7 separate regions of the Homo sapiens genome follow, and all the other regions are linked to region 1. Evidence: promoter capture Hi-C in 16 types of primary human blood cells and fetal thymus (Javierre and others, 2016). All regions are on one chromosome and are shown on one strand. Each heading gives the region's core, a stretch centred on a gene start or on the middle of the fragment in contact. The rest is flanking DNA. Distances are from core to core; before and after follow the strand shown. Region 1 holds the start of LRIG1 (leucine rich repeats and immunoglobulin like domains 1). Region 2 overlaps LMOD3 (leiomodin 3). Region 3 overlaps UBA3 (ubiquitin like modifier activating enzyme 3). Region 4 overlaps TMF1 (TATA element modulatory factor 1). Region 5 holds the start of EOGT (EGF domain specific O-linked N-acetylglucosamine transferase). Region 6 overlaps EOGT (EGF domain specific O-linked N-acetylglucosamine transferase). Region 7 holds the start of PSMD6-AS1 (PSMD6 antisense RNA 1).

The links. The method cuts DNA at HindIII sites, captures the fragments that hold promoters and counts their contacts. A CHiCAGO score of 5 or more calls a contact.
Region 2: a contact is called between a fragment that was not itself captured here and the fragment with the promoter of LRIG1 in region 1, in 1 of 17 cell types (activated CD4 T cells). The highest score is 5.4, in activated CD4 T cells.
Region 3: a fragment that was not itself captured here is called in contact with the fragment with the promoter of LRIG1 in region 1 in 1 of 17 cell types (activated CD4 T cells); the score reaches 5.4 in activated CD4 T cells.
Region 4: a contact is called between a fragment that was not itself captured here and the fragment with the promoter of LRIG1 in region 1, in 1 of 17 cell types (activated CD4 T cells). The highest score is 5.6, in activated CD4 T cells.
Region 5: a contact is called between a fragment that was not itself captured here and the fragment with the promoter of LRIG1 in region 1, in 4 of 17 cell types (activated CD4 T cells, non-activated CD4 T cells, total CD8 T cells and 1 more). The highest score is 13.6, in activated CD4 T cells.
Region 6: a fragment that was not itself captured here is called in contact with the fragment with the promoter of LRIG1 in region 1 in 1 of 17 cell types (naive CD8 T cells); the score reaches 6.0 in naive CD8 T cells.
Region 7: the fragment with the promoter of PSMD6-AS1 here is called in contact with the fragment with the promoter of LRIG1 in region 1 in 2 of 17 cell types (naive CD8 T cells and total CD4 T cells); the score reaches 5.3 in naive CD8 T cells.

The regions. Positions count from the first base shown.
Region 1 is chr3:66,498,814-66,502,757 of GRCh38, reverse strand. LRIG1 (leucine rich repeats and immunoglobulin like domains 1) reads left to right here and starts at 1,736. Exons shown (of 19, transcript NM_015541.3): 1 at 1,736-2,568. The coding sequence starts at 2,351. RefSeq lists silencers at 1,367-2,026, 2,047-2,186, 2,227-2,306, 2,327-2,536 and enhancers at 1,639-2,139, 2,140-2,640. The HindIII fragment of the contact is 6,273 bases long and covers 489-3,944 here.
Region 2 is chr3:69,105,982-69,109,925 of GRCh38, reverse strand. LMOD3 (leiomodin 3) reads left to right here. Exons shown (of 3, transcript NM_198271.5): 3 at 805-3,861. The coding sequence ends at 831. It overlaps ARL6IP5 (ARF like GTPase 6 interacting protein 5), which reads right to left. Exons shown (of 3, transcript NM_006407.4): 3 at 3,834-3,944. Among named protein-coding and RNA genes, the nearest start is that of LMOD3, 15 kb to the left of the region's middle. The HindIII fragment of the contact is 494 bases long and covers 1,653-2,146 here.
Region 3 is chr3:69,059,926-69,063,869 of GRCh38, reverse strand. It overlaps UBA3 (ubiquitin like modifier activating enzyme 3), which reads left to right. Exons shown (of 18, transcript NM_003968.4): 8 at 367-431; 9 at 733-888; 10 at 1,691-1,793; 11 at 1,943-2,056. Among named protein-coding and RNA genes, the nearest start is that of TMF1, 9.6 kb to the right of the region's middle. The HindIII fragment of the contact is 1,506 bases long and covers 1,461-2,966 here.
Region 4 is chr3:69,028,293-69,032,236 of GRCh38, reverse strand. TMF1 (TATA element modulatory factor 1) reads left to right here. Exons shown (of 17, transcript NM_007114.3): 11 at 2,230-2,422; 12 at 3,942-3,944. Among named protein-coding and RNA genes, the nearest start is that of EOGT, 17 kb to the right of the region's middle. The HindIII fragment of the contact is 3,571 bases long and covers 57-3,627 here.
Region 5 is chr3:69,010,044-69,013,987 of GRCh38, reverse strand. It overlaps EOGT (EGF domain specific O-linked N-acetylglucosamine transferase), which reads left to right and starts at 304. Exons shown (of 18, transcript NM_001278689.2): 1 at 304-414; 2 at 1,189-1,473; 3 at 1,997-2,052. EOGT-DT (EOGT divergent transcript) reads right to left here and starts at 868. Exons shown (of 1, transcript NR_185971.1): 1 at 1-868. RefSeq lists silencers at 77-376, 437-986. The HindIII fragment of the contact is 1,028 bases long and covers 2,027-3,054 here.
Region 6 is chr3:68,991,315-68,995,258 of GRCh38, reverse strand. All of the region lies in intron 10 of EOGT (EGF domain specific O-linked N-acetylglucosamine transferase), which reads left to right. Among named protein-coding and RNA genes, the nearest start is that of EOGT-DT, 20 kb to the left of the region's middle. The HindIII fragment of the contact is 4,506 bases long and covers 1-3,944 here.
Region 7 is chr3:64,009,921-64,013,864 of GRCh38, reverse strand. It overlaps PSMD6-AS1 (PSMD6 antisense RNA 1), which reads right to left and starts at 1,901. Exons shown (of 2, transcript NR_189168.1): 1 at 1,823-1,901. It overlaps PSMD6 (proteasome 26S subunit, non-ATPase 6), which reads left to right. Exons shown (of 8, transcript NM_014814.3): 6 at 258-426; 7 at 2,910-2,987; 8 at 3,101-3,314. The coding sequence ends at 3,197. PSMD6-AS2 (PSMD6 antisense RNA 2) reads right to left here. Exons shown (of 3, transcript NR_038286.1): 3 at 1,622-2,068. The HindIII fragment of the contact is 1,623 bases long and covers 1,175-2,797 here.

The sequences.
Region 1 (3,944 bases), core at 487-2,986:
GAAGGGATAGGAAGATCACATTTTGGCTAAAGAAAAGAGGTGATCTTATGGCTGAGGGAAAGTTTAACACATTTAGTGCATCTCAATTAAAGCAAACCTCTTAGATTGTGTCGAAAATGGAATAAACCCTTTAATTTTTTTTTTTTTTTTGCCTTTTTTCCCTAAGGTTCAACTTCTCCTCTTTACCTCCCACCCCACCCCACTTCCATAAAACACAACTCAGATTTAATGTTCTGGAGCAAATGTTTTTCAACAGACTTGACCTGCTTAATCTTCCTGACAATGTGCGCAGTTATGTTAGTAATTTGCATACTCTTGGGAAGGGATATGAGACACTAGCAAACCAAAACGCCCAGAGGGCAGCTATATGTTACAGTGGTAATCTTTTTCTTTTTTTCTCAATGTGTGTATGTCTGCTTAATGTTACCACGTACTATCGTAACACACTACTACTATGGTCTGATCTTTAAGAGCAAAAGTTAGAAGCTTTGTTAACTATTATTTCTCCTTTAACTCTGTCTCTTACGAATACACAATGGCTTCTTGAAAATTATCTTAAAAAGACTCTGATTAAAACAAAAACCCAATGACAACAACAAAGCAACCCCTTTATCAAAGGCTGCAGCATTTCTAGAAGTACCCTTCAACTCACTAGCTGGGAAGGAGAGTGCACTTTTTTTTTTTTTTGAGACGGAGTTTCGCTCTGTCACCCAGGCTGGAATTCAGTGACAATTCAGTGACAAGTCTCTGCTCATTGCAGCCTCCGCCTCCGGGGTTCAAGCAGCTCTCCTGTCCCAGCCTCCCGTAGCTGGTATTACAGGTGTGCACCACCACACCTGGCTAATTTTTTTATTTTTCATTTTTAGTACAGACGGGGTTTTACCATGTTGGCCAGGCTGGTCTCGAATTCCTGACCTCAGGTGATCCGCCCGCCTTGGCCTGCCAAACTGCTGGGATTACAGGCGTGAGCCACCACTCCTGGCCGAGGGTGCACCTTTGAGACTAGGTTTCTGCAGCACACATTCATTTTAGTAATCAAGGACATATTGCTGGATTTAGGACGTGAAGAACAAGTCAGGAGCAGATGCTCCAGGCTGCTCGAGGAGGAAGGGGACCACGCCTAATGAAATAACCAAGGATGTCCCAGTCAGGAAGAAATGTGTTAAGTTTTAAACCTGTGTCTTCGCTTTTGGAAGGAACCTGGAAAACGGACGCGGGTTTGCTTCTAATCTGCAGTCCTGCTTGCAGCCTGAGGAGGACGTAAAAAGCCTTGGGGCCAGACAGCCCCAAAACGGGGGCGTTTTACCCTCTTAACTTTCTCTCCCCTTCTTGACGCAGAGGGCGTATCTTCACGCCTCCTTTCCCCAGCCCGCGTTCCCGTTCTCCAACAACAACCTGCGTGTCTCCTTTAAGAGGCGGGGGCCGTCCCTCCCTTTCTCCTCCCAGTCTCCCGCCCTTCACACCTTGGGTGGGAAAAGAGTGTGGGGGCGGGGTAGCCGGTGAAGCGGGAGGGGCGGGATCACAGCGAGCGCTCCAATGGCCCTCGAGGCTGGCCACGGTGGACTCCGGCAGCCAATGAGCAGCAGGCGGGGAGGCGTGGCGGGGCGCTGTTGCAAAGCATCCAACGTGGGCCAGCAGGCGGCCGCGGAGCGCGGAGCCTAGGGGGTGTGTGCGGGCGAGCGGCCGGGGGCGGGGCTTGGGGGACCGGCCGGGGCTGGGCCGCGGGGAGGCGAACAGCAAGCGGCTGATTGTTCGGCTGCGAGGTCGGCGGGACTCTTGCTGCGCGGAGGAGCCGTGCGGAACCCGAGGCTGCGCGCGCGCGCGCGCTCTCTGGCCGCGGCGTGGGGACAGCGAGGCGCACTGGGGCCTCCCAGCGCGGGGCCGGCCGCGCCGTCCAGCCCGAGGTCTACGGCTTTGCGCTCCGAGCCCAGAGGAAGATGCCTGCCGGCACCGAGCTCGGGCTGCGGGGCTGAACGCCTGTCTTCCAGGCGCAGCGGCAGCACTGCCCTCGGCCGGTGTCGGTAGCGGCACTCGGCGTGCCCCGGGCGGACGAAGAGCGCAGGCTGGGTACACCTTGCCCGAATCGGCGGAGTTCGCAGCTAGCGCGGGCGGGCCGGCCGGCCCGGATGGGCGCGGGGTTTGCGGCCCCCGCCGGGTGCTCCGGAGCGGCCCGGGCACCGGGGGCACGCTGAGTGCCGGAGCCGCGGCCGCAGAGAGAACTTGGGGCGGGGGCCATGCCCCGGTGCGGAGTCTAGAGCCGAGCGGAGCGCCCCGCGGGCCCGCCCGCGTCTGCGGCCGTTCGGGTCCTCACAGTCCCCGCGCCCGGAGTTCGCAGCGCGCTCCAGACAAGATGGCGCGGCCGGTCCGGGGAGGGCTCGGGGCCCCGCGCCGCTCGCCTTGCCTTCTCCTTCTCTGGCTGCTTTTGCTTCGGCTGGAGCCGGTGACCGCCGCGGCCGGCCCGCGGGCGCCCTGCGCGGCCGCCTGCACTTGCGCTGGGGACTCGCTGGACTGCGGTGGGCGCGGGCTGGCTGCGTTGCCCGGGGACCTGCCCTCCTGGACGCGGAGCCTGTGAGTGCCGCCCTTTCCGCCCTCTCTGCGCCCCGGGGCTCTGTCACTTGGGGATGGAGCGGCGGGGGTTCGTACTCAGGGAGGGGGTGCGGACTGGGTTGTGTGTGTGGAGTTGTGCGTGCTTGTGCGTGTTGGAAGACTGTCAGGTTGGAGTGGCGGAAGGGAGATTCTGCGTGGAGGTCCGGGGGAGTAGGCGTGCGAGAGAGCCTGGAGAAGAAGAGCGTGCCTCGTGGGGTCTGGAGACGAGCGAGCGTGGGTCGTAGAGATTTGGGGGTTAGCCAGCACGCGTCGTGCGGGCCATCTGGGGGTGAGTGAGTGGGAGTCTGGAGCTGAGTGTGTTTGCGGGTGGGTGGGTGGGAAACGTCTGGAGAAGAGTGTGAAGAAGTCTGTGGGGGTATGTGGGTGCGTTTCCTTTTCCTCTCCTGTAATCCAACTATTTGGTGTCTGAGCTCCTTGGTCTTCCAGTGGGTAATGAATGAAGGTGACTGTTGGGTCCAGTCTTTCGTTTACATTATTTATTAGTTGATAGTGTGTGTAGCCGTCTCCTGATCCCCGAAGACCGTGGTGGCCTGACTTGCCTCTCTGTGCGGGGCAGAAGGCAGTCTTCCCCCGAGGACCCCTGAGTTAGAGGGCTTTGACAGTTCCTGGCGACCTGTGAGTGCTGGGAGTTTGTCCTTTTACGCCTGTTTGGCATTTTACGGAACTGTGTTCCAGACCCTTCCTGTGTGTTCCCTGGGGCCCCATTGGGCTTGATGATCCAGTGGGGTGGGGCCCACCCTCAAGACTCTCTCCTCCATAAATGGTGCAAATGAGTTTTGGAGAAGTGCTGCTTCAGGAGAGGGTGCCAGGGGCTTGGCTGATTTAAGCTGTTTGTTTCACCCGAAAGAGGTTCTTTTCTGTGCTGTCAGGATGTGGGCTTATTAGGACTTAGTGGGACACTTCTTACAGGAGATTTGACAGGAAAAAAAAGGCATTAGACTTCTGTGTAAACATGGTAGAATAGAATAGTCTTCTTTTACTTCTAACAAATCTGGTGCATGAGTCAAATCCCGTTCAGTTATGGGTAATTAGCATCTCTGTAGAACCATTAGTACCTTTCCAGAAAAGGCCTAGCTTAAATAGTCCGCATTTCGGTTGAATAATTGGACATTTTTCCTAGAACATAGGAAAGGCACAGCAGTAACCTTAGGCATGACTATGGCTGTTTTAAAAAGAGAAAACTGGTGTCACAAGTTGTAACCAGCACCTGTGGCTTGATCGAAGAAAATGTGGCCTGTGTTCTGACTACCGTGAAGGGAAGAAAAGTTAATTCCTTTTAAATGTAAAGATCCTGTACCTCTCAAAATGGGGCACGAATCTTTAACTTGGCCCGAGAC
Region 2 (3,944 bases), core at 650-3,149, 2.6 Mb before region 1:
TAGCTGTATGATCTTAGGCAAGTTATTGTCTTCTCTGAGCCATTTCTCTCCCTACAAGGCTTTTGTAGGATGTAATGAGATACTGTTTTAAAAATAAGTGTTAGGCCGGGTGCTCATGCCTGTAATCTCAGCACTTTGAGAGTCCGAAGCAAGTGAATCACTTGAGGCCAGGAGTTTGAGACCAGCCAGGCCAACATGGTGAAACCCTGTCTCTACTAAAAATACAAAAATTAGCTGGGCATTGGTGGCACATGCCTGTAATCCAAGCTACTTGGGAGGCTGAGGCAGGAGAATCGCTTGAACCCGGGAGTTGGAGGTTGCAGTGAGCCAAGATGGTGTCACTGCACTCCAGCCTGGAAGATAGACTGAGACTCCATCTCAAAAAAAAAAAAAAAAAAAAAAAAAGTGTTAACATGGATTACTCACTTGTATAATAGCCTTGTGAATTAGATACTGTTATTATCATTTTACAGCTGAGAAAACTGATGCCCAACACCACATAACTACTACATGCTAGTGCCAGTCTTTGAACCCAGGCCAACTTAGGCACCCGCCCTCTTATTTCCATGATGTTACTTTGCCATGTGCTCAAAGCTCTTGGAACAGTCCCTGGCATTAGTAAATGTCTAATAAATGGTGGCTGTGGTTATGATTGTTGTTTTATCTTGATTTTGGAGGTGCTTTGGCCAGAATTTCAAACCTATTCTGTATCTTTTAAGGCATGTAAATTTTGTAAATTTTGCTGCAAAGCTCTTAAATTTCCAGGATTAATTTCCCCCGTTTCCTCAAATGCTTAAATCGCAGGTGCAACTGCCAAAAGAACTGGCGTAAGAGGCAACAGAGCCATCTAGAAGAACAAGAAATGGAAATAGTGACTCTTGGATTACAGCATGGAGACTATGTCAGCAGCAATACTTTAGGATCCACGTGGCAGAACTGGAAACAATGCTACCATCTGATAAGGGTATTTGTAAAAGGCAGAATGTTTGGGCCATGAAGAAGTAGGGGCTGAAGAGGAAGGTGGAAGGAGATAAAATATAATATTTAGAGGCAATATTTTCTACTTGCAATCAATTTGAGTGACTCAGGTGAAATTTAGAGTCATATTTCCCGAAGCAGAAGTTAAAGAAAATTTTTTAAACATTTGCTTTATTATTGTTTTCTTCTGGTAAATAATAAATATAACAGAAGTGTTAACTATTGTATTCCCATTTTTTTCTCCTTCCATCTCTTCTGCGGTAATTCATCACATAGTATCTTAAAGGGAACAAATAATGTTTCATCCTATGGAAATGTGAAGGATGAATTGAGCTCCTGGCCCTTCTGATGCTTTGAAATGGAAGGATTGTTCCTTAGAGCTTCTCTGCAGAATCAGTGGAGATTTTCAGTTTCCCACCCTGCCTGGCTTTCTCTCTTGGTGACTCCCTTGGTGTTTTGGAGTATTCTTTCTATAGGGGTACCTGTGAGGGGCAGAACACGTAAGCCACAGAACATGGTGAAAACTAAGTGTCACTAGGAAAAGTAATGGGAAAGTAAACCCTGCATATATGAAAACTTCCTGGCAGCAAGTTTTCATATATAGAGGGACAATGGGAGACAGCATGCTGTTTTTATAGAAAAGAAGTTTTACATAATATAGTTATTGACAAGCTTTTGGTTTTGGCTAAATACACACACACACACACACGCTCATATGTGTTTACTCTGTAAGTCTAATTTGATTTTATCACTCTCAAACATATTTTAAAGGAAACTTGCTTACAGGAAGGATTAAACTTGAACTACTTATCCTATTCTTTAAGGCACTCCATTGCCTGGCCCCAATTTACTAATCCTGTCTTATTTCCCACAAATCCTTTATACTCTACTCGATGAAACATCCTTGTGCACACCCTTGTGCCTTTGCTCGCATTAATCCTTCCAAGAGACTTCCCTCCTGTTCTCCATTAATGAACGTCCTACCCAGTCTTCAACTCCCGGGTCAGATCCTGTGTCCTCCATAAAAAATTTTCCAGACAACTCCAATCTGTCCTTCTTCCAAGTTCCTAGAGGCCTTAATTATTCATTCTAGCCACTAGGTGCATAGAATTTGAGATTTTTGTAATAATAGAAGTAGTGTGAACCCTAGAAATTAGAAAATCAAGCTTTGGGCCAGGTGCGGTGGCTCATGCCTGTAATCCCAGCACTATGGGAGGCCAGGGAGGGAGGATCTCCAGAGGTCAGGAGTTCGAGACCAGCCTGGCCAACATGGTGAAACCCCGTCTCTATTAAAAATACAAAAATTAGCTGGGCATGATGGCAGGCACCTGTAATCCCAGCTACTCGGGAGGCTGAGGCAGGAGAATTGCTTGAACTGGGGAGGCAGAGGTTGCAGTGAGACAAGATCACGTCACTGTACTCCAGCCTGGGTGACAGAGTGATACTCCATCTCAAAAAAAAAAAAAAAAAAAAAAAAAAAAAAAAAAAAAAAAACCTTTGGTGCCTTTTCTCTCTTCTTTACCTGAGTAAATAATTGGCACCTGCCTTCTTTCTCCTTTTATGTTATCATAAGTGGCATGTATCAAACCAAACAGGCTAGGGGAGAATAGGTCTAATTGTGACAGACTTAAAAACAACACATTATTTGGAAAGACAAGCCATGGGAAAGAAATATGGCGTTTCTATTTTTTTAAGATAATTTAGTATGTACAAAAGTATCCAAATTTAAATATAGTTTTCAATGGCTGATAGTTTTGTTTTCTCACCCTTCAATATTTCTAGAAAACATCCTTGCATACAAAGCAGGATAGCTAAGAAAGGGCTGTAACAAACAAAACTTCAAGTGTCTAGCACATACTACATCTAAGAGGCTAAACTCTGATAGGAAAAGCACTTTAAACATAATTAAAAGCTTAATGTAAATTAGTAGTTGAAATTCTAGGCCGGTGCGGTGGCTCATGCCTGTAATCCCAGCACTGTAGGCGGCCGAGGTGGGTGAATCACATGAGGTCAGGAGTTCAAGACCAGCCTGACCAACATGGTGAAACCCCATTTCTACTAAAAAAAAAAAAAAAAAAAAAAAAAAATACAAAATTAGCCAGGCATGGTAGCTCATGCCTGTAATCCCAGCTACTTGGGAGGCAGGAGAATCACCTGAACATGGGAGGTGGAGGTTGCAGTGAGCTGAGATTGCACCATTGCACTCCAGCCTGGGCAACAAGAGCGAAACCTCATCTCAAAAAAAAAAAAAAAATTCTAGAAAGCCCCTATGCATTTGTTTGTATAGCCACAGTATTATTAAAGTCAGGAATTTCAAAATGCACAGTAAGAGGGTTTTTATCTTAGATATACAAGAAGAAAAGATGATCCAATTTCATAGCTTATGGCCTCAATACACAGGTTTTGCCAAAAGAGGTGAAGCAGTTCACATTATGCTTTTTCTACCACCCAACCCTAAAGATCTTAGTTGCAGATTTTAGCTTGTTTTTAAATGTAATCATAATTTACAACATTTATATGTTACATTTTTCTGTTATTACCCTTCCAGAATTGACTACTGGCCATTAGTAATTACAGGTATCTTTTTTTTTATTAGTTTCTCCAAATTTATTGGATTTTATCGGCAGAATTCACCTTGTAGAAAATGGAATGGGCTAACATGTATATAAAACTGGGCTAACATGTATATAAAACTCGTGCCAGGTTTAAAAATAGGATCCCACTGGAATTGTTTTATTCTGGCTGCAAGTTAATAAAGTATTCAAGCTTTACTAAACAGTATTTGAAACAGCTGAAGTGTTTGCTTCACTGTTTATAGGGTCGTCGCCAAGTTTCTCAGGTATTTAAGACAGATGTGCATTAAATAAAGTCTCACCAAAAAAACCTTTAATCAATTTTATTCTTCATATGTGGGTAAGGGTACAGATTCTAGACCATGTCTGTGAAGTCATGGTGATATCACTGTG
Region 3 (3,944 bases), core at 964-3,463, 2.6 Mb before region 1:
CTTACCTGAATGAGAGTTCACTCAAGGAATTGGAGCTCTGAGAACGTATGTGGGATTACAGTAAAAAGTGCTTGTGGTTTTTTTGTTGGTTTCTTAGAACGTGCAAATTGTTTTCTGCAAGTGCTTTTTTTTTTTAATTAGTAAACTTTATTTTTTAGGGCAGTTTTATGTTCACAACAAAATTGAACAGAAAATTTTTGAAAACTTGGGTTCTCATAGAGCTTCCTGTTCCCACAAACACACTACCTTCCTAATCAACATCTTGCACCAGAGTGGTACATTTGTTGCAGTTGATGAATCTACATTGAAAGATCATCATGCAACTACATATTTAAAAACTAAAGTTGCTTTTTTTTTTTTTTGTAGAATTTCATATTATTGTATGTGGACTGGACTCTATCATCGCCAGAAGATGGATAAATGGCATGCTGGTAAAGACTTTAGTATTGTTATAGTTCTCTGAAGTTCTTGCTGCTGTGCTTCACATCCCCAAAATTAGAATTGATATATTTTTGAAAAATCAGAGTTTAATTTTTAATTAAGTATATTTACTTCATTGTTTATTGCCAGTCATTGGTTTTCAGGTGAAGACACAAATTGTTATTATAATCCCTTGATTTGATACATTGGTATTCAATAGCACAACCGACTCATAGGATTACTTGAAAGCATACTTCTTCTTTTGAATTCTTATCCCCTTCTCCTTTAAAGCCCTTCAAATTGTTTTCCTAGATATCTCTTCTAAATTATGAAGATGGTGTCTTAGATCCAAGCTCCATTGTCCCTTTGATAGATGGGGGGACAGAAGGTTTTAAAGGAAATGCCCGGGTGATTCTGCCTGGAATGACTGCTTGTATCGAATGCACGCTGGAACTTTATCCACCACAGGTAATCAAAAAAGCACCTGCATTTCTTTTATAGTATCTTGGCATGGAATTAGGGATTAATTATTAAGTCTAGTTAATATTTAGGATTGTTAATTAGAAGTGGCCGTATTTTAAAAATTACACTAAGAAGAAAGATAAAATATGAAATTCTGCTCTATTTGAGGAAAGATATGAACCGAGTACATTGTTTTGATACTATTCTGCTTTCATAATTTATTTGTATTTTTTATTTGGGGAGTAGGTATCAAGTAGAATTACAAAGTTGTATATTGATGTCAAGCTGTAATCTATGTGGTTTTCACCTGTATTTATTTCAGGGAAATAAAGATACCAGGGATAAGAATGATCTTTCCAAGGATGGGGCTTTTTGGTTTACATATCCACTTTAAAGAACACTTGAAATTTTGAATAATAAATGTAAACAATTTTATGAGTATTCACTTGGGATTCACTTAACTCTGAACTTGCTTTTGTTTTGGTTTGCTTTATACTTAAATATTAGGTAAAAATAACAAGGTGTTCATATTTGAGAAAATCTGTTCAGTATTTTTCTTCTCATAGTCTAACAAAGCTTAAATTTTATACCTTGTAAATGTAGGGCAAACCTGTCTTTACAGGCAGTGCAGCCTAAGTGAAGTGACTCAGTTAATCTGTATTATAGTTTGAGAGGCATTTTTAATGGTATACAATATTTTGAGTTGAAACAAATTGTATGAAATTGTTAAGAACTAGATCATAACTGGAAGTTGCATTTTAAAATAATTCGTTTAAAATTCACTGAAAAGGACAAACTGTGGTTTTAGGTTAATTTTCCCATGTGCACCATTGCATCTATGCCCAGGCTACCAGAACACTGTATTGAGTATGTAAGGATGTTGCAGTGGCCTAAGGAGCAGCCTTTTGGAGGTAATAAACCTAATTTAATAATCTAGAATTACATAAAATACATATTTTTTCTATATTATTCCTTTGGATAATTTCATTAAAAACATTGTTTTGTGATTACGTATTCCTGTCTTCTCTCTCTCTCTCTCTCCCTTTTTTTTTTTAAACAGAAGGGGTTCCATTAGATGGAGATGATCCTGAACATATACAATGGATTTTCCAAAAATCCCTAGAGAGAGCATCACAATATAATATTAGGGGTGTTACGTATAGGCTCACTCAAGGTAAGTCAGCAAATTGTCATGAATTATGATGTTGGGATGACTTAGGGCTGGGATGCTTTCAGGAGAATAATCGATAAGTGAGTTTAGACAGTACCATCCACTTGAAGTTCAGTAAAGGTACCATGTAATTCATACTACTTATTAGCTAGGGGGAATTTAATAAAATTATTGAATCTTACTTACTTAGGCTATAAGTCATCCAAGTCAAACTGTCCATTTTATCTTCCACTGAATTCATCATCTCTTAGAGACAGTCTATTTCACATTTGGACAGGACTGTTAGACAAATATTCTATATATTGAACAGAAATTGTCTTCAGGTCAGCTGCGGTGGCTTATACCTGCAATCCTAGCACTTCGGGAGGCCGAGGCAGGCGGATCACCTGAGGTCAGGAGTTCGAGAGCAGTCTGACCAACATGGCAACACCCTGTCTCTACTAAAAATACAAAATTAGCTGGGTGTGGTGGCACATGCCTGTAATCCCAGCTACTCAGGAAGCTGAGGCAGGAGAATCACTTGAACCCAGGAGGCTGAGGTTGCAGTGAGCCTGAGATTGCGCCACTGCTTTCCAGCCTGGGCAACAAGAGCAAAACTTCGTCTCAAAATAGAAATCGTCTTCAGTTTGGTCTGACTGTTGTCCCAGTACTGTATACAGTCTAATTCCCTTTTAAGTAATAGCTTTTAACATATTGAGGACAGTGATCACATCCTTTGCAAATTTTTATCAGTGCCATAAACCTCCCTAGTTAGTTCCTTTAACCCTGTATTAGTTCATTTTGCTTTGCTATAAAGGAATATCTGAAACTGGGTAATTTATTCAGGAAAGAGGTTTATTTGGCTCATGGTTCTGCAGGCTGTGTGAGCATGGCAAAAGCATCTGCTTGGCTTCTGGTGAGACCTCAGGAAGCTTTTACTCGTGAAAGCTAAGGGGGATGGCAAGGCATGTCATATGACGAGAGGGAGCAAGAGAGAGAGGAGGGAATACCAGGCTTCTTTTAATAACCAGCTCTTGCGTGAACTTAATATCACAGGGAGGGCACCAAGCCATGCATGTGGGATCTGCCCTAACGGTCCAAACACCTCCCACTAGGCCTCACCTCCAACACTGGGGATCACATTTCAGTATGAGATTTGGAGGGGACAGATATCCAAACTATATCCAACCCTTTGATATGTTGTACAGCTTCAGGTTCTCATGTTGTTTTTCTGTAACCATATTCCAGCTATCCATATTGGTTAACTGGAATATAGTTAGAGAAAACAACTTTTCCTAATTGTTCAGGCCAACATGCAGCATTATGGGACTGGTCTTAACTTTAGATAATAGACTTCTGATAACTGATGCAGTCTTAAAGGAGAGCAGGTATTTATGTTGTTGTTTTTTTGTTTACATTGATGCTATACTTTGGATTCTTTGATGTTACTAGCCACTGAAAGCTGGATGTTTTGTCCACATATGCAATTGCTAAGCCACATCTGCCTATTATAAACTTGGCAGTTTGGGGAGTGTCTTTTTTTTTTTGTTTTTCTTAATATCCAAGTATAGGTCCTTACAAATGTATTCTTAAAATTCAACCTGTTTTTCTCTCTTTATATGTATTCTGCCAACTTACCTGGTGTTTCTAGCTTCATTTCACCTGTTTTGATAATTATATCCTTTATTTCTTTTTCAAATAATTGATGAAAATTTTTAATAAGACTGAACTCTCTGAGAACAGACATCTGAATCATACTTCTGGCCAGGCCCTTTTAGGTTTATCTCATTCTGTTCATCAGACCTTCTTGGTACTTTGTATTTCTTTATCTTGTTCACAAGGATGTCATGAAAAACCTTTCCAGATCCTCTACTGAAGCCTAGGTATGCTATCTTTTGCATTTTCCTGAGTT
Region 4 (3,944 bases), core at 593-3,092, 2.5 Mb before region 1:
GTATTCAGTGGACTCTTAGATACCTTTGGGGCTGCTGTCATGGTGAGAGGGAAGCTTGATAAATAAGAGGCTGGGCTTCTCTAGCTGCTTTAATGAAAATAGGGCCTCCTTTGTCTATCTTTTTTTAATTGGAGTTCCATGAAAGATTTGGTCTAGAAAAAGATTCATTTACTTAAAAAAATGAACTGAATTAGATAAACCTTCATATATATTTAAATTTATAGGTATAAATGTTAGGTCTGTCGTTTATCTCTGACAGCTTTTGAGAGCAATGTGCTGTGAAATATGAGACATCTGAAAATGATATCTTTTGAAATAAATATTTAGCAATAAATGAATGCTAGAAACTGGTACTTTTGTGGTTTTTAGACTGAAGTCTACATACCCTCAGCAATATGTGGTATTGTGCTAGCATATAGGCAAAGCCACAGGACAAACATACCAAGGAATGCTATTAAAAAGACCATAGCTATGCTGTGGAGCAGAGTGTAAAATGTGAAATAGAGGTATTACTAGCTCTACTTTGGTGGAGAAAAAATACAAGAATTCTTACCTAGGTTAAATCTCAGAATCTTACCCATTGCTCTTTTTTTCAATTGAAAATTTTTGTTGATATAATGTAGATTCATGTGCAGTTATAAGAAATAATATAGAAAGGTCCTTTGTACACATTGCCTAATATCTCCAAGTATTAAAATCTTACAAAATTAATGTATAATATCACAACCATGGTATTGACATTGATACAATCTACTGATTTTATTCAGATTTCCAAAGTTTTATTGGTACTCATTTGTGTATGTGTGTGTGTGTGTGTGTATTAAGTTCTAAACAACTATACCACATATCCATTACCATAGTCAAGATATTGAACAGTTCCAACACTATTGAGTCCTTCCTGTTAGCTTTTTTTCTTTTTTTCTTAGCTGAAAATAATCACTCTTAATGTTACCCTTTTGGAAACACACCTACCACTCTCTCAACCCTTCCTCCCTTGTCCCAAATCTCTGGCAATCACTAATCTGTCCTCTGTTTCTAAAATTCTGTCATTTCAAAAATGTTACATAAATAAAATTATACAGTGTATGACATTTTGGGTTTGGCTTTTTTCACTCAGTGTAATTCCCAGGAAGAGGTTCACACAGTTGTTTTTGTATCGGTAGTTTAGTCTTTTTATTGCTGAGTGTTATTCCATAGTATGTACCACGTATATTTAACCATTCACTGCACAAGGGACGTCCAGGCTGATTCCAAGCTCTGGCTATTACAGATAAAGCTACTGTGAATATTCATGTACAGGTTTTAGTGTGAACCTAAGTTTTCATTTCTCTAGATAAATGCCCAAGTGTGCAATTGCCAGGTCATGTTTAGTGTTTTTAAGAAAATGCCAAACTGTTTACAAAGTGGCTGTGTAAGAGTAATGTGGTTTCTTCACACCCTTGCCAACATTTTATGTCGTCCCTGTTTTTTCTTTTAGTTACTCAGACAGCATGTAGTGATATCTCATTATGATTTTAATTTGTATTTTTTCCCTAATGGCTAATGTTATTGAACATCATTTTATGTCCTTATTTTCCATTTGTACATTCTCTATGGTGAAATTTCTGTCTATGTCGTTTACCCATTTTCTAACTAGATTGTTATATATTCCTGATACTAATCCTAGATATATGGTTTGCATTTATTTGCTCTCACTCTGTAGTTTGCCTTTTCATCCTCTTCACATAGATTTAAAAGTTGAAAATTTTGAAGCAGTTTGTCAGTTTTTCTTTCTATGGCTCTTGCTTTTTGTGTCAAATCTGCCTTGTTCTAGATCCTGAAGACTTTCTCCTCTGTTTTTTCCTAAAAGTTTTATAGTTTCATGTTTTACATATAAGTCTATGATCCATTTTGAGTTAATTTTCGTGAATGATGTGATGTGTAGGCTTTTTGGTTTTTTTGCATATAGCTGTCCAGTTGCTCCAGGACCATTTGGTGTTGGTGATCCACTACTCTTTTAATGCATGACTCCATTTTGAAATTAAAATACTTTTGGAAAAGAGTGATAAAGCAGGTATAAGTTAAGATTGGTTCATTTGTCTCAGTAGACAGTCCTGCCTTAGGCAATAAATAGTTATCAGTTTTAAGTGTGGCTACTTGCATCATTAAATGTTTGAAATCAGAATTGACTTGGTATTTTGGTCTCTGGGCTGTATGTGTATGTGATTTTTTTTTCTGTCCTGTAATCAGGTGAATCCCAGACCTTGCTGGCAGCAGCAGTTGAGAGAGAACGTGCAGCTACAGAAGAACTCCTTGCTAACAAAATTCAGATGTCTTCCATGGAGTCACAGAATTCTCTTTTAAGACAGGAAAACAGTAGATTTCAAGCCCAGCTAGAATCAGAGAAAAATAGGCTGTGTAAACTGGAGGATGAGAACAATAGGTGAGCATGGTTTCTGAGTGATATTTTTGGTAGTTCCGTGACATCCTAAAGCACTTTTTAAAAGTATGTTGTTGGGCCGGGCGCCGTGGCTCACGCCTGTAATCCCAGCACATTGGGAGGCCAAGGCGGGCGGATCACTTGAGGTCAGGAGGTGGAGACCAGCCTGGCCAACATGGCGAAACCTACTCTCTCCTAAAAATAAAATTAGCCAGGTGTGATGGTGTGCGCCTGTAATCCCAGCAGCTCGGAGGCTGAGGCATGAGAATCGCTTACACCCGGGAGGCGGAAGTTGCAGTGAGCCAAGATCCCACCACTGCACTCCAGCCTGGGTGACAGAGTGAGACTCGGTCTCAAAAAAAAAAAAATAAATTAAATAAGTAAATAAACAAAGTATGTCGTTGGCTTTTAGCTTCAGGGTACCAAGAACTAAATGTAATCACTTTTAGCATTTAAAGTTAGGGTTATTAGTAATAGGATATTATGGCCGGGTGCTGTGGCTCATGCCTGTTATCCAGCACTTTGGGAGGCTGAGGCAGGTGGATCACCTGAGGTTAGGAGTTCAAGACCAGCCTGGCCAACATGGTGAAACCCTGTGTCTACTAAAAATACAAAAATTAGCCAGGCATGGTGGCAGACGCCTGTAATTCCAGCTACTCGGGAGGCTGAGGCAGGAGAATTGCTTGAACCTGGGAGGCAGAGGTTGCAGTGAGATTGCACCATTGCACCCCAGCCCGGGCAGCAGAGCGAGACTCCGTCTCCAAAAAAAAAAAAATAAATAAAGTAATAGGATATTATAACAAGAAGATAGTACTGGGATTCATTGTCATGTAGATTGTTGAGATTGTGTGGCATGTTTTGTATTTATTTTTTTTTCCAGGGAAAGGATTTGTACCTTTAATCAGATTTTTTAAAGGGGCCTATAACACCACAAAATAGTTTTGAGACTACTCTTTGGAGTTACTTTTATATTACAAGGATTTTAGTAGTATAATTTAAGTCTTTTCTAAATAAATTTCTGGGTTCTTGGAAACCATGGGGTGTAAAATCCATCTATCTGAGATTATATTAAGGCAATGGTTAGTATTTTTTAACCCTCTGTTCTTCCTTGGAAATTTTACTTTTTAAAAAAATGTCAAGTAAAAATGATTTCTAAAGTAAAATATCTGAACTTTTAGAAACATTTTCATAGAACTCCCTAATAAGCTTTGTGGAATCTGAGCATATTATAGGATGATGGTACTCAAAATTATTTTTATAAAGTCTCTTTTTAAATGAAATCTTAACCCAGAGCACCAATAAATAAAATGCACAGAAGTGGAGCTTTTTCACTTTTGGTTTGGTTTCTGAGTGAAACTCAGATGGGATCTGGAACACACTGTTGGAAAATCACTGATGTCAAGCTGGTAATAAAAATGATTTCTCAATATGTAGCTGGAGTTAATAAAGTACTGAGTTTTTAATAGTCTATACTAGCATCTTTTTCATTTTCTGTTTTTTTAAATTCTGCCTTGTTTAATAGGTA
Region 5 (3,944 bases), core at 1,291-3,790, 2.5 Mb before region 1:
GTCCGGCGCCGGCACGTGCCGTCGGTCTTTCCGGCCCTGGTGAGGGAGCTGGCGGACTCGCGCGAACGTTCGCGGGAGAACGCCAGGAAGGGCAGATGGTTCCTCGACTCTGAGCCCCTCCCTGCTGCGCTCGCCGGGTCGAGGCCGCTCGCCGGGCTGAAGCCGCTCCGAGCGTCGGGCCCCGCGCCCTGGCCCTCCTGGGTGTAGTCCCGGTCCTGCCTCTGCGGGGCCCGAGCCCGCCCACGGCGCCGGCTGGCCAAGGTGTCCCAGCTGCTCCTTGGCGCCCCCTGGCCCAGCTCCCGCGCCCGAGGTTTCCGGTGAGCGGCAGTAGCCGGTTATGACGACTCCCTCCTCTGGAACAGCCGCCGTCTCCTCCGCCTCCTCCTCGGTAGTTCACGGCTGCCCCGGCTCCAGGTGGGACTCCCCCGCAATCTGCGGAGCCTTCCCCCGCTCTCCTTCCCGCCGCCGCAGCGCTCTGCGCTGTTCTTGCCCGGGTGGTAGCCGCTCCCGGCGCGGCTTCCCGGAGGGCTATAGCCTACGCACGCACTCCGCCCGCGCCTTCCCATTCCCTGCGGGCCGGGAGGCGGGCGTCGGAAGCCGATCCTGGCCCTCCCCGGCCCCGGGCGCCCGGCCCCTTCCCAGCGCCCGGAGCGCAGGCGGGCCCCGGGCCCTAGCCGCGTTGACCAGGTTTCCAGCCGGGGCGGAGCCGCTCCCCGGGGCCCCTCCCAGGCGCGCTGGGGACCCGGGGCGCCGCGGTGCACGGTGGCGGGCGGCCCCGGGAGATCACCGACCCCGAAGCAATCCCTGGCGGCGCCCGGGGTCCGGAACCCCAGCGCGGCGTCTCAGCCGCGGCGGGGTGCTCGCCACTGACCCCTCAGCCCTTGGCCGGGACTGACGTTCAAGCGGACAGCTGGGCTCTGCCGGGACTGACGTTCAAGGGGCAGCCGAGCACTTCCTGAGCCCTGCCTGGCACCCGCCGAGAGACTTTTTGGCACAAGTAGGGGCCAGCCGTTGAGGTGTCATTCGGGGTCTCACGTGTTGAACTTTCCATTTGCCCACTGCCGTCTTTAAACTTTTCCAAGCTCTCTCTCTCTGCGACATTGCCCCATTTCGCCCGCTGTGTCAACCCCAGGTTTTGCCTCCTATCCATCATCTTTCAGATGTTTCCCTTTTTTCCTTCCTCATTAGGCCTGTGGAAATCGAATCAAGGGTTTCTGGAGTGGAGTGATTCCAGCTGCTTTGAGCTGAAGGAAAAGTAGCCTGGCCAGTAAAGCGTCCGTGTGCTGGAGGAGTGCAGCCACCCATCCCGGCGGGCCTTGCAGGACGACCGACACCAGGAAGGCTTTGTGCCAGGCCCAGCAGCCACCCCCAGCCGCCTTATGCAAGTGGGTACATGCCCTCGCCAGACGCCAGCTTTCTGATCTGCGTCTTTAGATTTTTTCCATCGCCTAAGCGTTACTTCTCCACTGATCGGTGAGTTTAGTGATGGCCAGAGCTCACTGGAGGACAATGGACTTGGATAACCAAAGGTCAGGGCTTGGTCATAACAATGACTTTATTACCGGGAAGGACGAGTCAAAAAATAGGAAGGCCTGGGAACCCTCAGGCTCGCCACTCTAGGTGGGTAGCCCTGTGATTCAGCCAGTGGGATTACTGCTGTGAGAATGGGAAAGTTGTTTGCTTCTGGGAATGTTTGATCCACTAAGTATCCTGTTGGCCAGTTCCAGTGGATGCCTGTAGAAAGTGGGCCACCTCCTCCCGTTCCCCATTGGAATCTGGTCCGAGTTGCTGTGTTGGGGGTGGTGCCTGTGAACTCGAGTATAGCAGTGTGGTATTCATTAAGGAAAAGAAAGCGCACCACCGGCCAGGCCTTCTGGCTGAGAGTTATCACGTTACATTATTTTCTTTCTTAATATTTCCTTTAATTCACAACATCATCTGAATGATCAGGTTTACTTTAGCATCCTTTTAAGGTAATATGTTTCATTTCTGACAGGTTTTAGAGACCTGAAACATCACAGAAGCTTCTGAGTGGTTCTGAAGATTCAAGAGGTATATATTTTTATTACAAGTAGAGTCATTGTTACTATTAATATGTGTTTTTAAATTTTTATAAAACTGCTGTCAACTCATTCTTGGATAAAAGCTCCAAGTGAAAATGTTATTGTAATTCAGATCAGATTTACAGCAGATAACACCATACTCTTGAGGGCCGCCAAAGTGAAAAACCACAATACTTAACTACTCCAAGGGGGGAAAATGGGGGAAAAAGGATTCCTTTTTGGTGTCCCCACTGTTCACTTAGAATTCCATGGCCTTGGAACTTGAGGTTTGATGGAACATAGCAGTCAATTTCCTTTTCTTCTTTCTTTCTTTGTTTTTTTTTTTTTTTGAGACAGAGTCTCCCTCGCATTACCCAGGCTGGAGTGCAGTGGCGAGATCACGACTCACTGCATCCTTGACTTCCCAGGCTAAAGTGATCCTCCCACTTCAGCTGGGACTACAGCTGATTTTTTGTATTCTTAGCAGAGACCGGGTTTCATCACGTTGCCCAAGCTGGTCTCGAACTCAGGGACTCAAGCAATCTGCCAGTCTTGGCCTCCCAAAGTGCTACTATTACAGGCCTGCAGTCTGTTTCTAAAGGTTCCATCTTCACAGCCCATAATCAATGAAGACTGATTTCGAAAGTTGGGTTTTCCGGTATGACCCAGGAAACAGCAGTCCTAGCTGATGAACATCCAGTGTGTATTAAGACTCTGTCATCCAGTGGAAAGAGCACTTAAAAAAAAAAAAAGAACAAAGATCCCACTAAAGTGACCTGAGAATGGCAGGATCATTGTCTGGGATATATAGGAGAAATCTGGTCCAAGAGATTTAACACTTACTGGGTGAATTAGAAATGCAGTGAGGTTTCTGACCATTATCACTGTTCACAATGTAAAGGCATGATGGGAGAGCTTAAGGGCACAGTCTTTGAGGCAGACTGCTTAGTGTCCTGGAGTTTCTAAGTCTTAGCTATTATAGCTGATTATTATACCTACTAGCATGTAAGCTTCACAAGGGCAATGAGTTTAGTTCGTGACTGCACCTTCATTGCTGTATCCTGAGTACAGAAGCGCTCCTGGAACATTGTCTGTGCTCATACCTTGATTATGATTATAATTTTTTATTCAGCAGACACACACTTGCTCAGAGCCATCCCACTCCCTTTGCTCTCTCACAGATACTTTTCCCCTCCTCATCATTCAGATCTCAGCTTTAATGTTATTTAGGCCCCTTCTCTGCCCCACATGGCTTTAAACTTTTATTTAATAAACATTTCCATAGCATTTAGCATGTGCCAGATAGTTTTCGAAACACTTTACCAATAACTAACTCATTTAACTCATGACAGCTCTATGATGAAGGTTTATTATTATTTCCATTTTACAGATGGGAAAGCTTAGGTGCAGAAAGGTTAAGTAACTTGTTCCAGGTCTTACAGCTGGGAAGCTGCAGATTTGCGATTCAAATCCAGGTGGTTAAGCTTTAAATGTTCACCATGCTATGTTGTCTATCATATTACTTTATTTAGTTTCAGGTATCACTAAACTGGATCCTATCAAGCCCTTCCATAATTTTTGTAAGTTAAAAAGTTTTATTGGAACACAGCCTCATCCATTCTTTTATAATAGACCATGGCTACTTTTTTGGACAGAGGCATTGTTGTGTAGTTGCCACAGAGATCTTATGTCTGGCAAAGCCAAAAATATTTACTGCTTCTCCTTTACAGGAAAAGTTTGCTGGCCCCTAGTTGGTTTGATTCACAGGCCCAGTCATCAGCTGAAGTTGTTTATTTGATTGCTTGTTTATGACAGTTGTAGTAGGTTTAAAGGCACCATGAGAGCAAGGCTCTTTCTTGTTTTGTTCACCTCTGTATACCCATTTGCTAACGTGGTGCCTGG
Region 6 (3,944 bases), core at 583-3,082, 2.5 Mb before region 1:
GTGGCTGCTGTTTCCCTTTTGTTGGTAAGGACTTAAATTAAGCATCACTGTGACCTGCAGGCTGACTATGACATGAATCCCTCCCGGTGGATGGTGTTGCCAGAGTCCTGATGGTCTTGGATGAGCAGTTTGCCCAGGGAAGAGCAGGGAGGTAACTGTGACTGCAGTTCACATCTTGGTGATATTTTCCAACCTGTCATCACAAGGAAGCCTATGGGGCCTTTCCCTCTCCTCCTTGAAAAGCTCTGCAGTTTACTCCCTTCAGCATGTGGCATCTTCAGTGGGATGGGCAAGGCCACCAACCTGCAAACATGCATAGAGGGACCCATCTTCAGATGCCTCTCTGGGCACAGCAGGGTTGCTCTTATCAAACAGAATGAATAAAAGGAGAAATTACGGCAGGCTTTCCACATTTGCTTGTGCTGAGAAGTAGTATAGCTTTATGATTACTTTTTTTCTGTTTGTTTTTGAGACAGAGTCTTGCTTGTCACCCAGGCTCAAGTGCAGTGTCGCGATCTTGCCTCACTGCAACTTCCGCTTCCCAGGTTCAAGCGATTCTCCTGCCTCGGCCTCCCCAGTATCTGGGATGACAGTGTGTGCTATCACACCTGGCTAATTTTTATATTTTTAGTAGAGACAGGGTTTCACCATGTTGACCAGGCTGGTTTCGAACTCCTGACCATAGGTGATCCGCCTGCCTTGGCCTCCCAAAGTGCTGGGATTACAGATGTGAGCCACCGTGTCCAGCCATGATTACTTTTTTAATTATGAAAGTAATACCTGATTATAATGAGTTCAAACAACACAGAAGTATGTGAAGTTTTTAAAAAAGTCTCCTTCTTCCTCTCCAATTCCCTGTTCCCCCAAGGGTAACTGCATTTAACGTGTGTGAGTCCCTTGCAGGACTCTCTTTATTTTAATAAGTGCAAATATGTCACCCAGGCTAAAGTCCAGGAATATGATCCTAGCTCACTGCAGCCTTGCTCTCCTGGGCTCAGGTGATCTTCCTGCCTCAGCCTCCCAAGTAGCTAGGACTACATGTGCATGCCACCATACCTGGCTATTCTTTTCCATATATGTGTTATATATGTGTTATGACAATATAGTCATAACATATGTGTGTGTGCGTATATATAATATATATTACTGTCTTCTGATTTGACATCTGGCTAATTTTTAAATTTATTTTCTGTAGAGACAAGATCTCGTTATGGTACCCAGATTGGTCCTTGATATGGTTTGGCTGTGTCCCCACCAAATTTCAGCTTGAATTGTATCTCCCAGAATTCCCACATGTTGTGGGAGGGACCCAGGGGGAGGTAATTGAATCCTGGGGGCCAGTCTTTCCTGTGTTATTCTTGTGATAGTGAGTAAGTCTCATGAGATCTGATGGGTTTATCTAGGGTTTCCACTTTTGCTTCTTCCTCATTTTCCCTTGCTGCCACCATGTAAGAAGTGCCTTTACCTCCCACTATGATTCTGAGGCCTCCCCAGCCATGTGGAACTGTAAGTCCAGTTAAACCTCTTTTTCTTCCCAGTCTCGGGTGTATCTTTATCAGCAGACTGAAAACGGACTCATACAGTAAATTGGTACCAGTAGAGTGGGGTGTTGCTGAAAAGATACCTGAAAGTGTGGAGGTGACTTTGGAACTGGGTAGCAAGCAGCGATTGGAACAGTTTGAAGGGCTCAGAAGACGACAGGAAAATGTGGGAAAGTTTGCAACTTCCTAGAGACTTGTTGAATAGCTTTGCCCAAAATGCTGATAGTGATATGGACAATAAAATTCAGGCTGAGGTGGTCTCAGATGGAGATGAGGAACCTGTTGGGAACTGGAGCAAAGGTGACTCTTGTTATGTTTTAGCAAAGAGAGTGGCAGCATTTTGCCGTGCCCTAGAGATTTGTGGAACTTTGAACTTGAGAGAGATGATTTAGGGTATTTGGCAGAAGAAATTTCTAAGCAGGAAAGTATTCAAAAGGTGATTTGGGTGCTGTGAAAGACACTCAGTTTTAAAAGGGAAACAGAGCATCAAAGTTCAGAAAATTTGCAGCCTGATTGTGCAATAGAAAATAAAAACCAACTTTCTGGGGAGAATTTCAAGTCAGCTGCAGAACTTTGCATAAATAGCAAGGAGCCTAATGTTACTTCCCAAGACCATGAGGAAAATGTCTTCAAGGCATGTCAGAAACCTTCATGGCGGCCGCTTCCCATCACAGGCCTGGAGACCCAGGAGGAAGAAGTGGTTTTGTGGGCTGAGCCCAGGGTCCCCATGCTGTATGCAGCCTAGGGACTTGGTGCCTTGTGTCCTAGCCGCTCCAGCCATGGCTGAAAGGAGCCAATGTACAGCTCAGGCTGTGGCTTCAGAGGGTGGAAGCCCCAAGCCTTGGCAGCTTCTATGTGGTGTTGAGCCTGCGGTGCACAGAAGTCAAGAATTGAGGTTTGGGAACCTCCACCTAGATTTCAGAAGATGTATGGAAATGCCTAGATGCCCTGGCAGAAGTTTGCTGCAGGGGCGGGGCTCTCATGAAGAACCTCTGCTAAGGCAGTGTGGAAGGGAAATGTGGGGTTGGAGCCCCCAAACAGAGTCCTTAGTGGGGTGCTGCCTAGTGGAGCTGTGAGAAGAGGGCCATCATCCTCCAGACCCCAGAATGGTAGATCCACTGACAGCTTGAACTGTGCACCTGGAAGAGCCGCAGACACTCAATGCCAGCCCGTGAAAGCAGCCAGAAGGGAGGCTGTACCCTGCAAAACCACAGGGGCAGAGCTGCCCAAGACTGTGGGAACCCACTTCATGCTTCAGTGTAACCTGGATGTGAGACCTGGAGTCAAAGGAGATCATTCTGGAGCTTTAAAGTTTGACTGCCATGCAGGATTTCGGACTTGCATGGGCCCTGTAACCCCTTTGTTTTGGCCAATTTCTCCCATTTGGAACGGCTGTAATTACCCAATACGTGTATCCCCATCGTATCTAGGAAGGAACTAGCTTGCTTTTGTTTTTACAGACTCATAGGTGGAAGGGACTTGCCTTGTCTCAGATGAGACTTTGGACTGTGGACTTTTGGGTTAGTGCTGAAATGAGTTAAGACTTTTGGGGGACTGTTGGGAAGGCATGGTTTGTTTTGAAATGTGGGGACACGAGATTTAGAGAGCCCTGGGCAGAATGATATGGTTTGGCTGTGTCCCCACCAAATTTCAACTTGAATTGCATCTCCCAGAATTCCCACATCTTATGGGAGGGACCCAAGGGGAGGTAATTGAATCATGAGGGCCAGTCTTTCCTATGCTATTCTCGTGATAGTGAATAAGTCTCATGAGATCTGATGGGTTTATCAGGGTTTTCCACTTTTGCTTCTTCCTCATTTTCTCTTGCCGCTGCCATGTAAGAAGTGTCTTTCACCTCCCGCCATGGTTCTGAGGCCTCCCCAGCCATGTGGAACTGTAAGTCCAGTTAAACTTCTTTTTCTTCCCAGTCTCAGGGTATGTCTTTATCAGCAGTGTGAAAACTGGCTAATACAGTCTTGAACTCCTGGCCTCAAGTGATCCTCCCACCTCAGCCTCCCAAAGCACTGGGATTACAGCCATGAGCCTGGCCAATATGTTTATATTCTTATGGAAAATACATTCTCTGTCTCATATTGCCACCTTAGTATTATCTGTGGAATGTCTTTTTAAGTCAGTACCTTTAGGGCTATCCTTGCTTTAGATGTTATGTGGTATTCTGTTTAATGGATGTTTTGGAAGTTGGATGCATGCATCAGTGCATGTATTCATTTCCCACTCCACCCCCCATCACATTTAGTTTTGTTTCCAGTTCTGTGCTATTTACTGAAATGTGACCATAAACACATATGTCCTTTCAATATACCTATATCTTCACATGCTCATCCTAGCATTTCTGTAGGACAGATTCCTATAATTGGAATTTCTAAGTCATAGATTATGTGC
Region 7 (3,944 bases), core at 652-3,151, 2.5 Mb after region 1:
AACAAGTTCCTTTAGAAGCTGAGCTCTGATAGTGATGTCAAATAGCCACCTGTTACTTGAAGACGATGTTTGCATACCTGGCCCCTCCTTTATCACTGCTGTTGCTGCCATTGTTGATGACATGATGTGGAAGGGCAGTGAGAAATTTGATACTTGTTCATCTATCTGTTGGACTCAACTAGTAGTGTTGCTTTAGTTTTTAATCTTTTTATCTGAAACGGAGAGTCTATTATAATTTGTCATTTTATTCATTGCAGCGGTTGTGGAACAGGAAATGAAAAAGGACTGGCTTTTTGCCCCTCATTATCGATACTATGTAAGAGAAATGAGAATTCATGCATACAGTCAGCTGCTGGAATCATATAGGTCATTAACCCTTGGCTATATGGCAGAAGCGTTTGGTGTTGGTGTGGAATTCATTGATCAGTAAGTTTGAATAATGCCATGTTAATTGAAGTTTTAAAGTTGCCTTTTAAAATATGTGAACTTGTACAATTTTTTACTTGTTTACATTGGTTCCCTCAATCTTAACGGGGAGGGGAGAGGTTTTTTTCCTCAGTATTATCAAAACATTCGTATCCTGTTGCCTCTGCCTTCCTCATGTCATGTCTGCCCCTTGCATTAACAGATGGGAAGATGAGTTGTAGTGAGGCTAAGTGATTTGTTAAAGGTCATTAGACCAGTTGTTATCAAAAGTTGTCTTCTGTTACTTCTTTGTAGACCACACTGCAGCTACGGTAATGACTCTTAGATCTGATATTTACAGTTGGTCATATTCCCTCTGATAATTCCTTCCAGTTTTTAGGTTGCTGCTGCAATTCTGGTCAGATTGGTTGTTAAATGTGGGACTTTTAGTACTTGCATCAGTGATTAAACAAATAAATACTTAATGAGCCATTCATTACTATATGTTTGGTATTGTTTTACAGCTCCCTTTTCACACTTTCATTGTAGTAGTAGGGAAGAGATGGCAAGGAAGCAAATAAATATAAAACGTAATTTCACATATAGAAATGAACCTATGGAGATGAGAAAATGCTATCCTTACGTACGGCATGCTTAAGGAGGTGAGGTTTGCTCTGAGATTTGAATTGAGAGGAGTCAGCCATATGGAGTCCTTCTGCGTGCAGAAAAGGGAATAGAAAAGGCTAAGGCTTTGAGCCAGGAATAAGCTTGGATGTTGTAGGAACAGAAAATGTCAGGGTGGCTCCAGCATAGTTGGAGTGGTAGGAGATTTTGAGGATAATATATGGAGAGTTAGGTAGGTAATGATTTGTGTAGGGCCTTGTAGGTCATGGGATGGAGCTTGAGTTTTAAGTAAGTTTGATAGGGAGCCATTGGAAGATTTAGAGCCCAAGTTACATGGTCCTATGCAGTGTCTTTATATAAGAAATAGAGTAAGGTGGCAGAGAGGACCAGTTGTGCTGTTTAGTAGCTCTTAGAGGAGATGTTACCGTGGCGTGGACGAGGGTGGTGAGAGTAGAGTTGGGTAGGAGACATACTCAATATGGGATGTCCAGATGGCATCTAGATCAGTGGCTCCCACATGTAGGTGTTTTTAAATGTTGATGATGGTGTTTTCAATGGTCTGCAGTGGAAACTTTAAATGAAGATGCATTTCTTTTAAATAAGACCATTCTCTTTCTAGTATTTTTTAAATTTCGAACATCCATAAAATTGTAAAGAAAGAATTGTACAGTACATTTTAACATATTTGCTTGTTACAATCTATACATTTTATGTTTTTTAACCACTTCAAAGTAAGTTTCAGACACCAACACATTTTTTAAATGATCCCTACCATTTTTTAAATGATCCCTACCAAAATGGAAGGCTGGTATCCCAAGGTTTTGTTCCATTTCTCAATTCTAGTCTGTGAAATTGAAGTCTGATGACCACTCTTAAGAGGGCTGTTCATTAGGGTGCGGGCTGGGCATTATGAGTGTGTTTTTCATGAGTCAGTGGAAGGAGGGGCTTGTTGTGAGCAGTGCATGAGAAAAACGGCTTGGCTTTGCTTCTTTTTCCAGCTCTGTGGCCTTGGTCAGGTTACGTCTCTTCAGTATCGTAACTGTAATGTGGAGATAAAGCCTTCATTAGTTAGGGGCACACACCGCAGTATTCCTTAAGTCATCTTGATGACAAGTGAATGCAAGGCAGCTGGTACCTTTCAGGTAGTAGTTGAATTCAGGTAGTATTTGTTCAGTTTTTTTTTTTTCCCTTCATGTTCTAAGACCAGCTTGAGAGGCAAAGGTTGTACCACTGAGCTCTAGTTGTTGTTACCTAAAAAGGCCTTGTTTTAAATTTCTGTGATACCTAAGAATTTCAAATCTGGGTTGTCATGGATTCTTTATTCTTTTTTTCTCCCTTAAAAAGTTACATTTTAGATGAAATCCCCTTTTTTAAAATGGGCAAAGCAATAATTCTACATCATTTCTCCCCTTCCCTTCCACTTGTTTAGACTAAGATATGTTAGAGAGGGAAAGGGTCGTTGTTTTAGTAAATACTATTGCTGTTGACATGTTAATACTATTGCTGTTGACATGTTTACTGATGGGCTGTGTTCCATAATTTTGTTTTAGGTCTTTTGTTTGAAACAGTTTACTGTTTTTATCAGTTTTGGTCCCTAATTTTTCCTAACCTACAGTTTTTCTCTGAGTACATATGGTTTCATTGTTTGATCTACTTTCTATCTATCTGAATATGAACTTCTAGGATCATGTTTATTCTAGTAGATGATGACTTAAAGCCTGCAGTATAGGAGGGACAACGTCAACTACTGCATGTGCAATAACAAGCTTGAAGGGAAGCTAAATGTTTGTTACAAATTTAAGACAGTATTTTAATGCCGTTTGCATTTTTCTAAGAATTTTCTATAAAGCTAATTCTGTTATTTTTTGTCTCTAAATTAGGGAACTGTCCAGGTTTATTGCTGCCGGGAGACTACACTGCAAAATAGATAAAGTGAATGAAATAGTAGAAACCAACAGGTACTCTCATTTCTCAGAATAAGGGGCATTCCTAAATTTTAAAAGTAGGTCAACTATTGTCATGGAATAATGTGACTGGTAAATAATTCATTTTTTCTTGAATTTATTTATAGACCTGATAGCAAGAACTGGCAGTACCAAGAAACTATCAAGAAAGGAGATCTGCTACTAAACAGAGTTCAAAAACTTTCCAGAGTAATTAATATGTAAAGCCATGTAACTAACAAAGGATTTGCTTTAGAGATAATTATTTGGAATTTTTATAGCTTACTTCACAATGTGCCCAGGTCAGCTGTATAAAATAAATACTGCATTGTTGTTTCTTTCCATTTATTTTTTTCTTAAACACATAGGCCTTCTAGAATCGGGTCCACTTATGTTAAAATAATGTCACTTGAATTATTCATTAATGAAAATCTGGTTTATAGGGTAAGGTTGCAGCTGGGTTCAGCTAGGTTCAGCTCCTGACTGCCTCATCAGTAAAATACGTCAGTAAAATACGGATGTTGACACAGCCCATTATCGCTTACCTTTAAATCTCTTACCTGTAAGCTTCCCGATTTTAGAAAGAAGAGTAGTGGCCTAAAATTAAACAAACAGTGTCTCCCACTTTTAGTATACAAAAGATAGAAGATAAAGAAAATGTGTAATAAGCTTTCCCTCAGAAACAAGTAACCATATAAGGCAGGAAGTTACTCTTTTTTAGGAAGCTGACATAACCTGGATTACAGAATCTACCAAGGCTGATCTCAGTTTTCTAAAACCTTATATGTAAGTATTTATTAGCAAACTGAATCTTTTTTCCAAAAGTAGGACCATAGTAATAATAGCAGTGAGGAAAACAAAGTTGTTCCTCTGTTTGTTTGAAACAGTTTATTAGTTTTATCAGTTTTATTCAGTGTGTCAGATAGGAATAAGTGCTATAAGAAGTATAAAACCAGATAGACAGACAGATAG